Linked DNA regions of Homo sapiens: all the other regions are linked to region 1. Evidence: promoter capture Hi-C in 16 types of primary human blood cells and fetal thymus (Javierre and others, 2016). All regions are on one chromosome and are shown on one strand. The core of a region is centred on a gene start or on the middle of the fragment in contact, and the rest is flanking DNA. Distances in the headings are between cores, read along the strand shown. Region 1 holds the start of CCDC89 (coiled-coil domain containing 89). Region 2 has its middle 3.4 kb from the start of LINC02695. Region 3 has its middle 13 kb from the start of LINC02695. Region 4 overlaps PICALM (phosphatidylinositol binding clathrin assembly protein). Region 5 overlaps PICALM (phosphatidylinositol binding clathrin assembly protein). Region 6 overlaps PICALM (phosphatidylinositol binding clathrin assembly protein).

Region 1 (2,743 bases), core at 183-2,682:
GATCGTACCACTGCACTCCAGCCTGGGCGATGGAGGGAGACTCTGTCTCAAAAAAAAAAAAAAAAAAAAAAAAAAAGTAGTGTCTGTCATATTAGGGATATTTTTCTCAATTTGATTTTTACCTTCAACATCCACTTAATACACATTTATCTGAATCTCCCCCATGTGCCAGGCACTAGTCTAATCATCAAGGATGAAATAGACACAGTCCCTGCCCTTAAGGATCTTACAGTCTAACAGAGGGAAGCTGGCAGATAAACAGTGACTGCAATAAAATTTTCACATCCTCCACCAGAAGTACAAATAGCTATAGCGGATGCACTAAAAGATGTGAGTGACCAATTGGACATGTAGGGGCCAGGAATAGGCTTCAGAGACGATTCTTAACTAAGAATAAAAAGCTTTACTAGAGTGACAAGGGACAAAGTAGGAAAGGCATTCCAAGTAGAGGAACACCTAAAGATAGGGCGAGAGAGCTGGTTAGTGGATTTGGGTTTGGCTTCAATATTTGGGTTTGAGGAGTAAAATGTCAAGAAAATCCAGTGGAAGAAGGGGCTGGAGAGACCTCAGAAGTCACATAATTTAAAAAATTATACATAACTTTTTGAGTAAGCTTTCCCTTTCTGATCTTACATAATGTTTAAGATAAAAAAAAAATCCTTCCTAGCCCCAGAGATTTGATGTTTACCTTCATTTTCTTCTAGTTTCTGTTTACATTTAACTAATCTATCAGGAGTTGACTTTGGCATATAATGGCAAGCTTCATTTGAATCTTATTTTTTCTGTTTTAATGTTTATCTGTGTGGTTCACTAAGCTTCTTTCTGTAACCTTATTTTGCTAATGGGTAAAAACAGGGGGTGTTAAATATCTAATAAAGAGTATTTATGCCCAGGTGGGGACAATGCTAAGAACAACAAAAGAAATTTCACTGGTGTTTTCTATTTTAATACTTAAATACCAAAAGGGAGCTGTGCCAAACATCACGGGTGCAGATATGCAGGCTTTTAGGGTCCTGGCTCTCAGAATACCACTACTACTTTGTATTCATAGACTGAAATTTTTTGAGGAGCCAACCATGTTTCCACAAACAGTAATTTATTCAAACGATAACTGAAGAGGGGAGAGGGAGGATAAATATATCATTGCCTGCTTCATTTGTTTACTACTACCAGAAATTAGGTGGAGTCAGGCTTCCTCCCCTGATGCTGGCTGGAGATTGAGTGGGGTTGGCATCTCTGTGCTGTACAGGCCAGACACTGAGACAGTTGACAACTGAGAGCTGTGATTGGTTAGAAAGGCAAAAGTAACCCGACCAGATTGGCTCTGGACTCCCCCAGATTCCCCTGTTGTTACTTCATAGCATTCTGAAGACCTGTCCACCAATTACAGGGCTCCTTACTGGAAAAACCAACTGCTGGGGAGTGCCAAGAGTCCCTAGCAACACCCTGCAGCGTTTGAAATCTGAGGGGAAAAGACTGTAGTCAGCCCTTAGTGGATGAGAGCGCCTATGCTCCAGAAACAGCAGGCTCCCAGGATGGACACCCCGCCCCCTGAAGAACGCTTAGAGAAGCAAAATGAAAAACTGAACAACCAGGAAGAGGAGACGGAGTTTAAGGAACTGGACGGTCTGAGGGAAGCCTTGGCAAACCTCCGGGGACTGTCAGAGGAGGAGAGGAGCGAGAAGGCTATGCTTCGCTCCCGCATTGAAGAGCAGTCCCAGCTCATCTGCATCCTGAAGCGGAGGTCAGATGAGGCCCTGGAGCGCTGCCAGATCCTAGAGCTGCTCAATGCAGAGCTGGAGGAGAAGATGATGCAGGAGGCTGAGAAGCTCAAGGCCCAGGGTGAGTACAGTCGGAAACTAGAGGAACGCTTTATGACCCTAGCAGCCAACCACGAGTTGATGCTCCGCTTCAAGGATGAATACAAGAGTGAGAACATCAAGCTGAGGGAGGAGAATGAGAAGCTGAGGCTGGAGAATAGCAGCCTCTTCAGCCAGGCTCTGAAGGATGAGGAGGCGAAAGTATTACAGCTCACAGTCCGGTGTGAGGCCCTCACTGGGGAGCTAGAAACGCTGAAGGAGAGGTGTGCTCAGGATGCCTGCCAGGCACAGGCGCGCGAGAAGGAGCTGCTGGAGCTACAGAGCCAGCAGGCCTGCACCCACACCAAGGAGACAGAACAGCTGCGCAGCCAGCTGCAGACCCTCAAGCAGCAGCACCAGCAGGCTGTGGAGCAGATAGCTAAGGCAGAGGAGACACACAGCAGCCTGAGCCAGGAGCTGCAGGCCAGGCTGCAGACCGTCACTAGAGAGAAAGAGGAGTTGCTGCAGCTGTCCATTGAAAGGGGCAAAGTGCTTCAGAACAAACAGGCAGAGATCTGCCAGCTTGAGGAAAAGTTGGAGATAGCAAATGAAGACAGGAAGCATGCGCTGGAGCGGTTTGAGCAAGAGGCAGTGGCTGTGGACAGCAACTTGAGAGTCAGGGAGCTTCAGCGCAAAGTAGATGGGATCCAGAAGGCCTACGATGAACTCAGGCTGCAGTCTGAAGCCTTCAAAAAGCACAGCTTGGATCTTTTAAGCAAGGAGAGAGAACTCAATGGCAAACTCCGCCATCTCTCTCCATAGGGAAGTTTCTGCTTCCTCTGGCCTGCAATTCAGAATTCAAATATTTGCGTCTTAGCATTATGGCAAGAGTAAAGATGATATCCCATTTATTATACTTTCAAGCACAAAAGGCAACTCAAAGA
Region 2 (2,743 bases), core at 81-2,580, 510 kb before region 1:
ATGTGCTTATTTATCATCAGTTTATCTTCTTTGGCAAGGTACTATTCTCTATTTTTTACCTAAGAAAAATAAATACATGCCAATTTTTGAAACAATATACTGGTTTACAAAGTAAAAAGTTGAAGTTCTCTCTCTCTCTCTCAATCCCACTACCCAAAAGTAATCACTGTTAACATTGTCTTCATTCAAGACATGTTTCTATGCATTAACATACCTACATATGTATATTTTTATGTACTCATTTGATTTTTCTTTTAATAGTATTTTATGAGTTACTTTTTAAATATATGTTAAAGGTATATTACTTTACTATATCCTGGAGACCTTTCAATGTCAGTAATGGGTGCAGAATATGCCAGAGGATGAATGTGCTATAAAGTAACTAATGAGTTCCTTATTGGACATCTATGTTGTTTTTTAAAATTTTTCTTTCTTTTTTTAACCTTTAGGCAATTCTGTAATGAACCACCTTCTGTATATATATACATATCTCTGTACAACAATGCCAGTATATCTGTGGCTGGATTCTTAGAAATGGAATTGCTGAGTCAAAGATTACATAATTTAACAACATGATAGGAATTGTCCTCAAACTGCCAAACTGTGCACAAAAAAGGCTGTTCAAGTTTACACTCCCATCAAGTGTTAGAGAGTAGTTCAGTATTCAGAGAAGCCATAGAAGTTTTAAATATGTGCTTCAGGAGCTACTGGGGAAAACAAGGGAGTAAGAAAAAGGCTGGTAGTCCACACAGCAATCTCCTTTCCTCTTCAGTGAGAACACCTCTCCTTTGATCAACATTATTTATTCGGCTTAGTTTAAAATTCCTCTTGAGGAGAAGTTTCTGGGACTAAACATTTGAAAATATTTGAAATAAAAAAATTACCTGTTTTTAAGTGACAAAAATTATTAATTTATAAGTTACTTAGGAATGTTCTCAGGTGCAAGTAACAGATGACACAAACACAGCAGATTGAATCGGCGATGGTACAATTTTCTCATGTAACATAAATGCAGCAGCTGCATTTGTTGGGTGGCTCAGTGGCCTTTTGGGCTTTTCCTTCATGGTTGCAAGATGGCACTACTCCAACTCAAGCATCATGTTTGTATTCAAGACAGAAGGAAAGGGAGACGGTTTGTATCAGTCACTCTGACCCTTTTATCAGAATTGCATAAGTGCTCTTAGAAGCAGTCTGCTTCTCCCTAAGATCTTTGCTCAGATGTTATTGGGCAGAGCTTTTTTGTGTGTGTAGTGTCTAATGGTTGCAAGGGAGGTTGGGAAAAATGATTCTTTTTTTTCTGGCTTTTATAGTGGAAGCAGGCAAAAGATTAGTTGGGTGTAGTTGTTGGGTTAGCCGGTCATCATGCTCTGCCCCTAAGTGCTCAGAATACTGAAGACTAAAGATGCAATGACAAACAAGATAGTCCTTATTGTTTTTGTTTGTTTGTTTGTTTTTTGTTTTTAGATACAGCTATAATTTTATTACAAAACTGTTCTTTTGGCATTAGTTAGTTACAGTGATAGCAAGATAATGTGAGTGTGCAGACTGGCTCTGATGGAACCACTGTATTCCCTGCTTACTGAACCAAACTTCAGCTACCTCATATCCATTACATACAAGTGACCTGCAGTTATTACTGCTACAAATCTTGACGCGTGTACCGCTGAGGGAGGAGCTGATGCTAAGGGATTTGATTACATGTTGATAAGACTACAAAAGTTCGTTTATGGGACTTTTTCTTCCTCTTCCCATGCAATGACTTTGCTTTAGAACAATCACATGGCTTAGAGCTAGTCTGAGTAGCAGCAGCACCCAAGGAGCGTCAGTTCTTGTTAAAAAGCAATACCTGTGTGATGCATTTTTACGCCACAGGCAAAGGGAAGGATCACCCTCATTTTAAACTCCTGCAGAGTCCCTTAATAAAATATCAAAGCATTCCATCAAGTTCTTCTGGGTGGTGTTATTGCTGTACATTTGTTGGTGAGTCATTTTCTGTGCTGTGTTTGCTTTGAAAGGATCTTCCAATTTATCTCCAATATTCCTTTCTTATCATGTCCTTTTCTTTAGCTAGGATTTCACATAACCCTAATGCATTATTAAGAATGTCTTCCTTATTGACACACTGGTTTTCTAGCATGTCTTCATAGATACCCACAAGAAAGGCAATTAGGTAGGGGGAACTATGACTTGGTTGTAAATCAAGTAATTGATTTAACAGATTAGGATATTTGGAAAGACCACGATCCTGCAAAATTCCTTTCAAATAGTTCCATGAACTATTATGTGGTACTAGTTGAATCATTTCCAGAGTGTATTGGACTTCTCTCTCCAATACAGCACAATCATTGTAGCCAGTGGTGTTGGAAATAACAAAATATCTTCGGTTCCAGACAGAGTTATTTCTCACATCCTCTTTGAGAAGTTGGTCCACATACTGCAGCTCATTATCCCAAAGTTTAAATTCCTGAATAACCCATTGTCGATGCTGCCAGGCATGATAATTCTTTGCATCCTGATTAAGAATATTATCAATAAATTCAGGCTCCTGAGATGGATCTCTTAGCCATTCCACTATTACTCGCCTATTGTGACAAACTAGATAGTTTTTGGGCTGCCCCTCAATTATTTCAGTGATGTAGTTCATTTCCTCATGTAGATCCTTCTGAAGTGACTTTAAGAGAACTCTCCGGAAATGTCACACTGTATAATTGGCTGCATTTAACTCAACAGCATCCCGGGTTAG
Region 3 (2,743 bases), core at 134-2,633, 490 kb before region 1:
TCTCACAGTTCCGGAGGTGAAAAGTGTTAACCAGGGCCATGCTCCCACTAAAACCTGTAGGAGAGAACTCTTGCCTGCCTCTTCTGAGATTCTGGCCATGGCTGTCAACTCTCGGCATTCCTTGGCTTGCAGTTGCATCCCTTAAATCTCTCTTTTGTCATCACACAGCATATTCCCTGTGTCTCTCTGTCTCTGTGTCCTCTCATAAAAACACCATTCATATTGGATTAGGTCCCACCCTAATGACCACATCTTCACTTGATCTGCAAAGACCCTGTCTTCAAATAAGGTCACATTTCACAGGTACCAGGGCTTAGGACTTCAACATATGTTTTGGCGACGGGAAATAATTCAACCCACAACAATGGCCTTTACAGTTATTTCTCTGCTTAGAATGCTTTTTCTTCAGTTGTCTACACTGTTCACCTTCTCTTGTGCTTCCGGTCTTTACTCAAATGTTACTTACTTGGCAAGGCCTTCCTTAGCCACCTTATCTGAAATCACAACATCTGTTCCCCAGCATTTGCTAGTCCCCTTCCCTGCTTTATTTTTCTCTTTACCACTTGTAATTAGCATATTATATGTTGTATTTCACGTATTCATATTGTCTCTTGTCTGTCTCCCCTGGTAGCATGAAAACTCCAGGAAAGCAGGGATTTTTGTGACTTTTGTTCATGGTTATGTTGCCAGCATGTACAATCAAGCCTGGCACAAAGGATACTTGTTGAACGTATAAAAGAATCTCCATGTCCAAAGCCCGATATTTAGAGCTCTAAGACTTTTGCAGCTTCACCAAGAGTCAGACCTTCTCCTATAGCCACAAGCTTTAACTTCCTAACAGGAAGCCAGATGTCGTAGTTCCCCACACTGAGGACTTAGAAAGAAAAACTTATCTCAGCCCCAAAGGTCTGGTTGTTGGAACTCCAGTCCACCAAGTATATTTGAAGGAAAAACAAGGCAGTGTCTCCCCTATCTGGTCTTTTGCTTAATTTATGAAACAAAACAGAAGGGCCTGGTGCGGTGGCTCACGCCTGTAATCCCAACATTTTGAGAGGTCGAGGCAGGCGGATCACCTGAGGCCAGGAGTTTGAGACCAGCCTGCCCAACGTGGTGAAACCCCGTCTCTACTAAAAATACAAAAATTAGCCAGGCGTGGTGTTGGGTCTGTAATCCCAGCTACCCGGGAGGCTGAGGCATGAGAATCCTTTGAACCCAGGAGGCGGAGGTTGCAGTGAGCTGAGATCATGCCACTGCACTCCAGCCTGGGCGACGGAGCGAGACTCTGTCTCAAAAAAAACAAACAAACAAACAAACAAACAAAAACAGAAGGAAAGGGATTAGGGCTAGGGAATCTCTGTTTGCCAAAATAGTCTTTCCCAGTCATAACCTTTCTGTCTACCTGATGAGTTTTCCGTCTTTGCCAGGCTTCCTTCTCTCTCCTCTGATGTAGATCTATGGTTTTGCGAGGTCCAGTATTATGAAGACCTTTATGTGCAGCGGCTCCTCTAGCAACTGGCACTCATCCAGCTACATCAGAGTTCTAACGGGACTCTTGGGTTGTAAAACTTTCAGCTTGTGGTCTTGTGATGTTTATTTTGTGTCAACCTGGCTGAGCTGCAATGCCCGGATATTGGTCAAACATTATTCTGGATGTTTCTGTGAAAGTGTTTTAGATGAAATTAACATTTAATTTATTGGACTTTGAGGAAACCAGATTGCCCTTCATAATGTGGGTGTGCCTTATCCAATCAGTTGAAGGCCTAACTGGAACAAAAGACTCACCTCCTCTGAGCAAGAGGAAATTCTTTCAGCAGGCGGCCTTCAGCCTTGAACTGCAACATTAATTCTTTCTGGGTTCTGCAGACTGCTCGCCTGCCTTGCAGATTTTGGACTTGCCATCTGCTATGGTTTGGATATGGTTGGTTGTCTCCACCAAAGCTTATGCTGAATTTGATCCTCAGTGTGCTGGTGTTGGGAGGTGGGGACTAGTGGAAGGTATTTGGATTATGGGGACAGCGCTCATGAATGGCTTTGTGATGTTCTCAAGTTAGTCCGTTCTCGCTGTCAGGCAACTGAACTGGTTCTCATAGCAATGATTAGTTCCTGTGAAAGTGGGTTGCTATAATGCCAGGACGCTCCCCTGGCTTCCCCTGTTTGCATGTGTCTGCTTCCGGCTTGACCTTCTCCAACATGTTGTGATGCTGCATGAAAGCTCTCGCCAGAAGCCAAGGCCATGCCTTTGAATTTCTTATCCTGCAGAAGTGTGAGCCAAATAAACCTCTTTTCTTTACAGATTACCCAGTTTCAGATTTTCTTTTTTTTCTTTTTTTTTTTAAGTACAGAATACACGCTGGATCAAATATTCTTTTGAAGCAACAGAAAACAGACTAAGACATCATCCTCTATAATTGCATGAGTCAATTCTTTAACATCTCTTTAGTGCTCTTTTTACACACACACATACATGAATCCTGTTGGTTCCATTTTTCTGGAGAACCCTGACTAATACAAATTTTATCAGCATTTTTCACAGAAATATTTATTTTAAACAACAGTGGAACAGAATTTCATGATGTTTTCTGACCAAGGTTGATATAATCTGCTTCCACTGAAAAAGCAAAACCCAGGCAGCATGTTTCCCCTGGTTCTGGGGCTCCAGTCATAAAACTGAGAGCTTTTTAGAGAGTGGGGTTTACAAAGGATACAGAGGATAGAGTTCCAGAGGATGAAGAAACTCTTGTTT
Region 4 (2,743 bases), core at 74-2,573, 350 kb before region 1:
TGTGGGGTCTGGAGATTCCTTAAGGCTCATTTACCATTGTAAGAGATTGAACTTGTGTTCAAAATACTGACCTACTTCTGGCATAGTGGCTGCCAAATTCTCAGGTACTTTACCATGCAACTCTTATTCTTTTTTTGTTTTGTTTTGTTTAATTTTTTTCGGATGGAGTCTCGCTCTGTTGCCCAGGTTGGAGTGCTATGGCTGTGATCTCAGCTTCCTTTTACCTCCGCCTCCTGGGTTCAAGCGATTCTCCTGTGTCAGCCTCCCAAGTAGCTGGGATTACAAGCATGTGCCACCATGCCTGGCTAATTTTTGTGTTTTTAGTAGAGACAGGGTTTCACCATATTGGCCAGGCTGGTCTCGAACTCCTGACCTCAAGTGATCTACCTGCCTCAACTTTCCATAGTGTTGGGATTATAGGCGTAAGCCTCCATGCCTGGCCCAGCCACTCTTATTCTTGTACCACCTCTTCCTCACATCCTTGAGGAGATAAAGAATGTGTCATGGCTCTCCTTTCTGCTCTTGATCATGATAACGTTCTAAAGGGTGTGGAATAAATTACAGTACAGAACTGGTGTGTGCTATGTGACATGAGAGGTACTGAGATTAGTTTATGGAAGTAACAGTGTTATAGTTCCTTTATAAATTATTTTTCTCTAACTTCATATATGACATAGTTGCTAAGTCATTTTGGAAGTGTTCGATTGTGTATGCATCACCTTGTATTTGGGCAAATACAATATATACAAAAAAATATTACACATACATAACTTTTTTTTTTTAGACAGTGTCTTGCTGTGTTATCCAAGTTGGAGTGCAATGTCGTGATCACAGTTCACTGTAACCTTAAACTCTTGGGCTTAAACTATCTTCCCGCCTCAACCTCCACTACAAGCAGTAATTAAAAAAAAAAAAACTAGGGAGCTGGGTGCGGTGGCTCACGCCTGTAATCCCAGCACTTTGGGAGGCCGAGGCAGGTGGATCACAAGGTCAGGAGTTCAAGACCAGCCTGGCCAAGATGGTGAAACCCCATCTCTACTAAAAATACAAAAATTAGCCGGGCGTGGTAGCAGGTGCCTGTAATCCCAGCTACTTGGGAGGCTGAGGCAGGAGAATTGCATGAACCTGGGTGGCAAAGGTGGCAGTGAGCCGAGATCACACCACTGCACTCCAGCCTGGGCGATAGAGTGAGACTCCGTCTCAAAAAAAAAAAAAAAAAATTTTCTTTTTTTTTTGGCTGGGTGTGGTGGCTCATGCCTGTAATCCCCAGCCCTTTGGGAGGCCGAAGCGGGTAGATCACGAGATCAAGAGATTGAGACCATCCTGGCCAACATGGTGAAACCCTGTCTCTACTAAAAATACAAAAATTAGCTGGGCGTGGTGGCGGGCCCCTGTAGTCCCAGCTGCTTGGCAGGCTGAGGCAGGAGAATCGCTTGAACCTGGGAGGCGGAGGTTGCAGTGAGCCGAGATCACGCCATGCACTCCAGCCTGGCTACAGAGCAAGACTCCATCTCAAAAAAAATTTTTTTTTTTTGGTTGTTGTTGAGACAGGATCTCCCTGTGTTGCTTAGGCTGGTCTCAAACTCGTGACCTCAAGCAGTCATCCTACCTCGGCCTTCCAAAGCACTGGGATTACAGGCATGAACCACAATGCCTAGCCTCACACATACAGTTTTAAAAAATGGAATTGTACTGTGTATTTTTCTTTACTATAACTTTTGACTTAATATGTGGTGAACATTTTCTCCTGACAGCTTTTATTTTTTGTGCCATGCATTCGTTGGCCTCATAGTATTTCATAGTCAGACTGTAGTGTCATTTGATTAACTCTTCACTCTTGGATATGTCCACTTAAATTATGAATTAGGTCCCTTAGCTTCATTAGTATTGTTCTAAAAGCCATCTGATTATTTTTGTCAATCTTTGTCATTGTACTCAGCGTTCCATATTCTGTCTTTAAGAGTATTTCCCCAGTTATTAAAGTCCAATTATGTTGGTTAGATTTCTTAAGGTGTAAGTCAGCCTGTGAAGAGCATAGTTTTGAGTTAATTCTACTGGAAGTTATATAAAAATAAAACATTGTGTTTCTCACAGAAGACCCCATGAACTTTACAGATAAAATTTTAACAGTTACATCTTAATTTGGACCATATTTTATGATCCCTTTCACAAATCATTGGAGTAAGAAATAAGACTGTTCATTTCATTTCCTGGACATTGACACTTACGACTAGGCAAATTTGCCTGTGTTTAACTTTGATTAGCCTATGTCTAATTTCAACTTGCATAGTTTTGAAATACTTAAAACAATTTTGCTATATGAAAAAAATTTTGCTGATACTTCATATAAAAGTTCCTTATCCTCTGTTTACTATTTTTTGATGAATATGCTTTTTGTTTCTACTCCCACCAAGGAAAAATTACAAAGATTTGATAAGTGAAGCAAAATTTGATTAACCAGTTAATTTGCCTTGCCTTCCATATTAATTTTATCTCCAATTTTCTTTTTTTTTCTTTTTTTTTTTTTTTTTTGAGGCAGAGTCTCGCTCTGTAGGCCAGGCTGGAGTGCAGTGGCATGATCTCGGCTCACTGCAACCTCCGCCTCCCAGACTCAAGCAATTCTGCTGCCTCAGCCTCCTAAGTAGCTGGGATTACAGGCGTGTGCCACCATGCCCGGCTAATTTTTGTGTTTTTTTTTTAGTAGAGACAGAGTTTCACCATGTTGGCCAGGCTGGTCTCGAAC
Region 5 (2,743 bases), core at 106-2,605, 330 kb before region 1:
CAGTACCACATTGTCTTGATTACTGTTGCTTTGCAGTGTGTTTTAAAATTAGAACGTGTGAGTCTTCCAATTCTATTCTTTTTTTTTTTTTTTTTTTCCCAAGATTGTTTTAGCTGTTCTGGGCCCCTTGCATTCCCATGTGAATTTCAGGATCAGCTTTTTGATTTCTGCAGAAAAGATAGCTGGGATTTTGTGGGGGATTGCATTGAATCTATAGATCAGTTTGGGGAGTATTACCTTCTTAATGATTAAATTTCTAGTCTATGAACAAGAGATGTGTTTCTGTTTATTTGGATCTTTTTTCATTTCTTTCAGTGCTGTTTTGTATTTAAGCTTTCTTTTAATCTTAAATGCAGAAGATGCATTTAATTTTTGCTGCACCCTAAATAACAATCATCTTAGTACATGATCCAGTCACATGAATGATATAGTCAGTGCTTCTATAAGTGATAACACCTGATATGCAGATTTTTTTCCTAGGATATAGGATGAGGCCTCAGGAGAAAGCCACTGAAGACATTCTTAGCAGCAGCGATGACCCTTGTAGCTATGAAGACCTGTCTTGAAGGGAATCTGGCATGTACAGAAATAGTCTGGTGAATGCCTTCCTGAGCCACTCTGCTGCTCAGTGATCCCAAAGGTCTAAGCAATTGATGTGTTCCTTTAGATTGTTCTATTGAAATTTTAAATTAATGGACTGAAGTGAAAAATTTAATTAAAATATAGAGGTAACCTCTTAGTTATGCAAGAAAATTTAAAGCTGAATTTAAATGTTCTATGCTGCCATTCCAAATCCATCAGGAGGTGATTATTTTGGAATATACCTAAAGTAAATTCTACAGATTTTGTTTCATATATTTAAGCACTTTGTAGAAGATTATGGTGGAGAACTTTTTTAGAAGTCTGATTTTTAACCTCTGTATCCTGTCCAATAATATTTCACTGTAAAGTGTCTTCAGTGAAGTTGATCTTCAGTGTATTTACAGATTTCAGAATAATAGATTTTTAAAATGGTAACTTTTGTTCTAATTTGAAGGGCCAGTCTTGAGAATAGTTGGTGAATTTTTTTATTTAATAGAGCAGTCTTTTTTAATTGGAGGAAAATAGCTCCTGATTAAGTACAATAAAATTAGTATTGACTTAGTTGAATCAAGGAGGAGCCATAATTGAGTGGGGACCAAGAAGAAGTGCAAAAGTGGCATTATACACACACATATACACGTCAGACTGTATAAATACAAAAGAAAAAAATCAAGAATATCAGGTATAAATTGAGGACATGACAGCAATTGAAATTATTATATCATGGCAAAAACCTCAGTAGGCTACACCTTTTGGAGAGGACTCTCATTGTAAGTAGTAAAGTTTGATTTATTAAGATTTTTTTTTATGTTTACAAAAGTAATAAAATTTAAGAAAAATACCATCCTAATTCATAGAAAATGTTAACATTTTAGTGTGTCTAACCTTTTCTGTGCGAGTAAATAGAAATATGTATATAAAGGCACATAGAAAATTACATAAAAATTGGATCAGATTCTTTGAAGGCTGCTTTTCTTCCCCTCCTGTGTATTTTGGACATTTTCAATGTCTGTACACATAGATCCATCTCATTTTTTTCTTTTTTTTTTTTAAGTCAGAGTCTGGCTCTATCACCCAGGCTGGGGTGCAGTGGCGTGCTCTTGGCTCACTGCAACCTCCACCTCCCGGGTTCAAGCGATTCTTCTGTCTCAGCCTCCCAAGTAGTTGGGACTACAGGTGCCCGCCACAATGCCCAGCTAATTTTTGTATTTTTAGTAGAGATGGGGTTTTGCCATGTTGGCCAGGCTGATCTTGAGCTCCTGACCTCAAGTGAGCTACCTGTCTCGGCCTCCCAAAGTGCTGAGATTACAGGCATGAGCCACCTCATCTGGCCTCAATCCATCTCATTCTTATGAATGGCTGTAGAATTATGTTGCAGGTGTACATCTGATTTATTCCCTTTTTTTAATCTTATAAAAGCAGTGGATTGACCATCCTTTTATGTATGGTTGCATTGAGTTTTTCTATAGAATAAATTATTAAAATTGATGAGTCATTGAGATATATATACATTTAACATTTTAATACAAAACACCAAATTATCCTTTATAAAAGTTATACTAAATTATTGGCTTAAATAGTTATTTGTATTCTTCCATCATCATGAAAAATGCGTTCATATGTGTTCATTTTATATTAGTTGATTGAATAAATGGTGATATTGAGCACACTCCCCCTTCCTTTTGAATGCCATACTTGTTTTATTAATTGTCTTTTGATGTCCATTGACAGCTTCTCTATTGGGTTTTTCACTCTTTTCCATTGTGTTTAATAGTGGTAAGAACTCACAAGCTTTTTTAGTCAGATGAATCTAGGTTTGAATTCTAGCTTCACACCAATTAGATGAGAGACTTCAGTGAGATACTTTAGCTGGTTTACTGACTTTTAAAAAATAATATTACTTTAAAATAATTTCACTTCCAGAAATGTAGCAAGAATATTAGAGAACTTCTGTATACTTTACTCAGAACCACCAGTTTTTAGCATTTTGCCACATCTGCATTTCTCTTTCTGTGTATATTCACACAGGCGCACACACACATTTTTTTCTGAACCATTTGAGAGTGGGTTACATACCTGATGCCTTTTATAGTTTATATCTTTTAATACTTTGGTGAATATTTTCTAAAAACAAGGATATTTTATTACGTATCTATCAGCT
Region 6 (2,743 bases), core at 142-2,641, 310 kb before region 1:
AAACCTTGTTTTCAGATGAGACTGTGGTTCTCAACTTTAACATCAGAAGCATTTGGAGAGTTTATTAAACTACAGATATCTGAGTCCCAATCCTAGAGTTTTGATTCAGTAGGTGGGGCCTGGGGCCCAAGAATTTTTGTTTTTAAGATGCTCCCAGGTGACTAGGTTTTAGCACAGTGCATTATTAGCACATGTTAAATGTTCCATAGAGAGTGGTGAGTTTTTTCCTTTCACTTTGTTGTTGCTGTTTATTAACTCACCCTTAAAAGCTCATCTGCCTGCCTACTGACTCCTAATAGCTGAGCCTAATAGCTCAGTGTAAGTTTTACTACGTGAACTGCTTGCTGTATGCATGCTCAGTTGCTACCTGCTCCCTGAAATCTTAGTAGGTGTTTGTTGAATTTAGTTCTTTTTTTTCTTTCAGCTTTATGATTTGTTTGCTCATGTATGCTACCTTCTTTAATCCCCAGTTAAGTAACATTGACCCCATTAAGGGGCAAGTTCTCAACATGGAGATCTTGAAAAGAAGTCTGTCCTAGGAGAAAGAAGTGAAAAGAATGTTCATTGTTCGAGGCTGAAACAAATTATTGGATAAAGAACTAATTTCACTATGTTTTATGTCACATACTAAAAATTTTCACCTTTTTAATAGTAATTAAGGGCAAATCTTACAGCCCATTTACAGAATTATTATTGTATATTCTATATGTTCCCCAAAGCACTAAATGCGTTTATATCTACTATCTACACAACTATTGTACATCTAAAAGACATGTCTTCAAAACTTTTTTATAAAAATACAGTTAGAAGGAATAAGTTCTAGTGTTTGATAGCACAGTAGAATTACTAATTAAAAACAATTGTATTACCTATATCAAAGTAGCTAGAAGATTTAGAATGTTCTCAACACAGAGAAATGATGAATGTTTGAGGTGTGATAGATGTCCTGATAATTACATGGTATGCATGTATCACAATATCATATGTATCCCATAAATATGTACAATTATTGTATATCCATTTAAAAAGAAAAACATTCTATTTTGGAGAATATATAAGTTAAAAATTAGGAGCTGGGTGTGGTGGCGTGTGCCTGTTGTCCCAGCTACTCAGGAGGTTGAGGCAGGAGGAAGGCCTGAGCCCAGCCGTACAAGCTAGCCTGGGCAACATCTCTTGGTCTGTTTGTCTGTTTCTCTCTCAATCTCTCTCTCTCTTTTGAGACAGTGACTTACTCTGTCACCCAGGCTGGAGTGCAGTGGCACAGCCATGGCTCACTGCAGCCTCAACCTCCTGGGCTCAAGCATTCCCTCTGCCTTAGCTTCCCGAGTAGCTGGGACTACAGGCGCACTCCGCAATGCCCAACTATTTTTCGTATTTTTTCGCCATTTTGCCCAAGCTGATCTTGAACTTTTGAACTCAAGCAGTCCGCACGCCTCAGCCTCCCAAAGTGCTGGGATTACAGGCATGAGCCACTACACCCAGCCTCCAGACCCCTTCTCTTAAAAAAATTATCTGTACTGTGTTTGAATTCTTAGACACTCTGGGGTCATGTTTTGAGTTGTTCATTAAAATCACATAGAAGTCGGCCGGGCATGGTGGCTCATGCCTGTAATCCCAGCATTTTGGGAGGCTGAGGTGGGCGCATCATGAGGTCAGGAGATCGAGACCATCCTGGCTAACACGGTGAAAGCCCATCTCTACTAAAAATATAAAAAATTAGCCGGGCGTGGTGGCAGGCGCCTGTAGTCCCAGCTACTTGGCAGGCTGAGGTAGAAGAATGGCATGAACCCGGGAGGCGGAGCTTGCAGTGAGCCAGGATCGCTCCACTGCACTCCAGCCTGGGCGACGGAGCGAGACTCTGTCTCAAATAAAAAAAATTACATAGAAGTCTTGAGGTAGAAATATATCATGTAAGCCAGGCATGGTGCCTCCCGCCTGTAATCCCAGCACTTTGGGAGGCTCAGGTGGGTGGATCATCTGAGGTCAGGAGTTCGAGGCCAGCCTGGGCAGTGTGGTGAAACCCTGTCTCTACTAAAGGACAAAAATTAGCCAAGCATGGTGGCATGCACCTTTAATCCCAGCTTCTTGGGAGGCTAAGGCATGCCAGTCACTGGAACCCAGGAGGTGGAGGTTGCATTGAGCCAAGATCACATCACTGCACTCCAGCCTGGACAACAGAGTGAGACTCTTGTCTCAAAAAAAGCAAAACAACAACAAAAAAAGAGGCTGAGCACAGTGGCTCACGCCTGTAATCCCAGCACTCTGGGAGGCCGAGGCAGGCGTATCACCTGAGGTCAAGAGTTTGAGACCAGGCTGGCCAACATGGTGAAACCCTGTCTCTATTAAAAATACAAAAATTAGCCGGATGCGGTGCTGCGCACCTGTAGTCCCAGCTGCTTGGGAGGCTAAGGCAGGAGAATCATTTGAACCTGGGAGGCAGAGGTTACAGTGAGCCAAGATCACGCCGCTGCACTCCATCCTGGGCGACAGAGCGAGACTCTGTCTCAAAAAAAAGAAGAAAGAAATATATCATGTAAATAGTGTGTTGTGTGATGGGGTGGCTCTATTCATAAATGCATGTAAAATTTTTTCCCTGTATCATTGATACATAGTTTGGACACTGAGGCACTAGAAGTGAGGTTAATGAGTATTTTACTGTGTAGTGTATTGCAAATGTGATTCAAGTTCTGTGAATATTAAAAGTAAGAAAAGAGTTTTATTAAAAATATTAAAATTGCTGTGA

What was found. Contacts are between HindIII fragments. The CHiCAGO score rates a contact against its expected background, and 5 or more counts as called.
Region 2: a contact is called between a fragment that was not itself captured here and the fragment with the promoter of CCDC89 in region 1, in 6 of 17 cell types (naive CD4 T cells, total CD4 T cells, total CD8 T cells and 3 more). The highest score is 12.5, in naive CD4 T cells.
Region 3: a contact is called between a fragment that was not itself captured here and the fragment with the promoter of CCDC89 in region 1, in 1 of 17 cell types (non-activated CD4 T cells). The highest score is 5.7, in non-activated CD4 T cells.
Region 4: a fragment that was not itself captured here is called in contact with the fragment with the promoter of CCDC89 in region 1 in 2 of 17 cell types (naive CD4 T cells and total CD4 T cells); the score reaches 7.0 in naive CD4 T cells.
Region 5: a fragment that was not itself captured here is called in contact with the fragment with the promoter of CCDC89 in region 1 in 6 of 17 cell types (naive CD4 T cells, total CD8 T cells, total CD4 T cells and 3 more); the score reaches 10.4 in naive CD4 T cells.
Region 6: a fragment that was not itself captured here is called in contact with the fragment with the promoter of CCDC89 in region 1 in 6 of 17 cell types (naive CD8 T cells, naive CD4 T cells, total CD4 T cells and 3 more); the score reaches 9.8 in naive CD8 T cells.

What each region holds. Positions count from the first base shown.
Region 1 is chr11:85,684,884-85,687,626 of GRCh38, reverse strand. It overlaps CCDC89 (coiled-coil domain containing 89), which reads left to right and starts at 1,432. Exons shown (of 1, transcript NM_152723.3): 1 at 1,432-2,743. The coding sequence starts at 1,497. The coding sequence ends at 2,621. RefSeq lists enhancers at 1,636-2,135, 2,136-2,637. The HindIII fragment of the contact is 2,434 bases long and covers 818-2,743 here.
Region 2 is chr11:86,195,486-86,198,228 of GRCh38, reverse strand. It overlaps the pseudogene FNTAP1. Among named protein-coding and RNA genes, the nearest start is that of LINC02695, 3.4 kb to the right of the region's middle. The HindIII fragment of the contact is 9,506 bases long and covers 1-2,743 here.
Region 3 is chr11:86,178,744-86,181,486 of GRCh38, reverse strand. No RefSeq gene overlaps it. Among named protein-coding and RNA genes, the nearest start is that of LINC02695, 13 kb to the left of the region's middle. The HindIII fragment of the contact is 1,114 bases long and covers 827-1,940 here.
Region 4 is chr11:86,035,737-86,038,479 of GRCh38, reverse strand. All of the region lies in intron 1 of PICALM (phosphatidylinositol binding clathrin assembly protein), which reads left to right. Among named protein-coding and RNA genes, the nearest start is that of PICALM, 32 kb to the left of the region's middle. The HindIII fragment of the contact is 8,252 bases long and covers 1-2,743 here.
Region 5 is chr11:86,017,779-86,020,521 of GRCh38, reverse strand. The region is part of intron 4 of PICALM (phosphatidylinositol binding clathrin assembly protein); the gene reads left to right. Among named protein-coding and RNA genes, the nearest start is that of PICALM, 50 kb to the left of the region's middle. The HindIII fragment of the contact is 2,040 bases long and covers 336-2,375 here.
Region 6 is chr11:85,997,252-85,999,994 of GRCh38, reverse strand. The region is part of intron 11 of PICALM (phosphatidylinositol binding clathrin assembly protein); the gene reads left to right. Among named protein-coding and RNA genes, the nearest start is that of PICALM, 70 kb to the left of the region's middle. The HindIII fragment of the contact is 4,873 bases long and covers 1-2,743 here.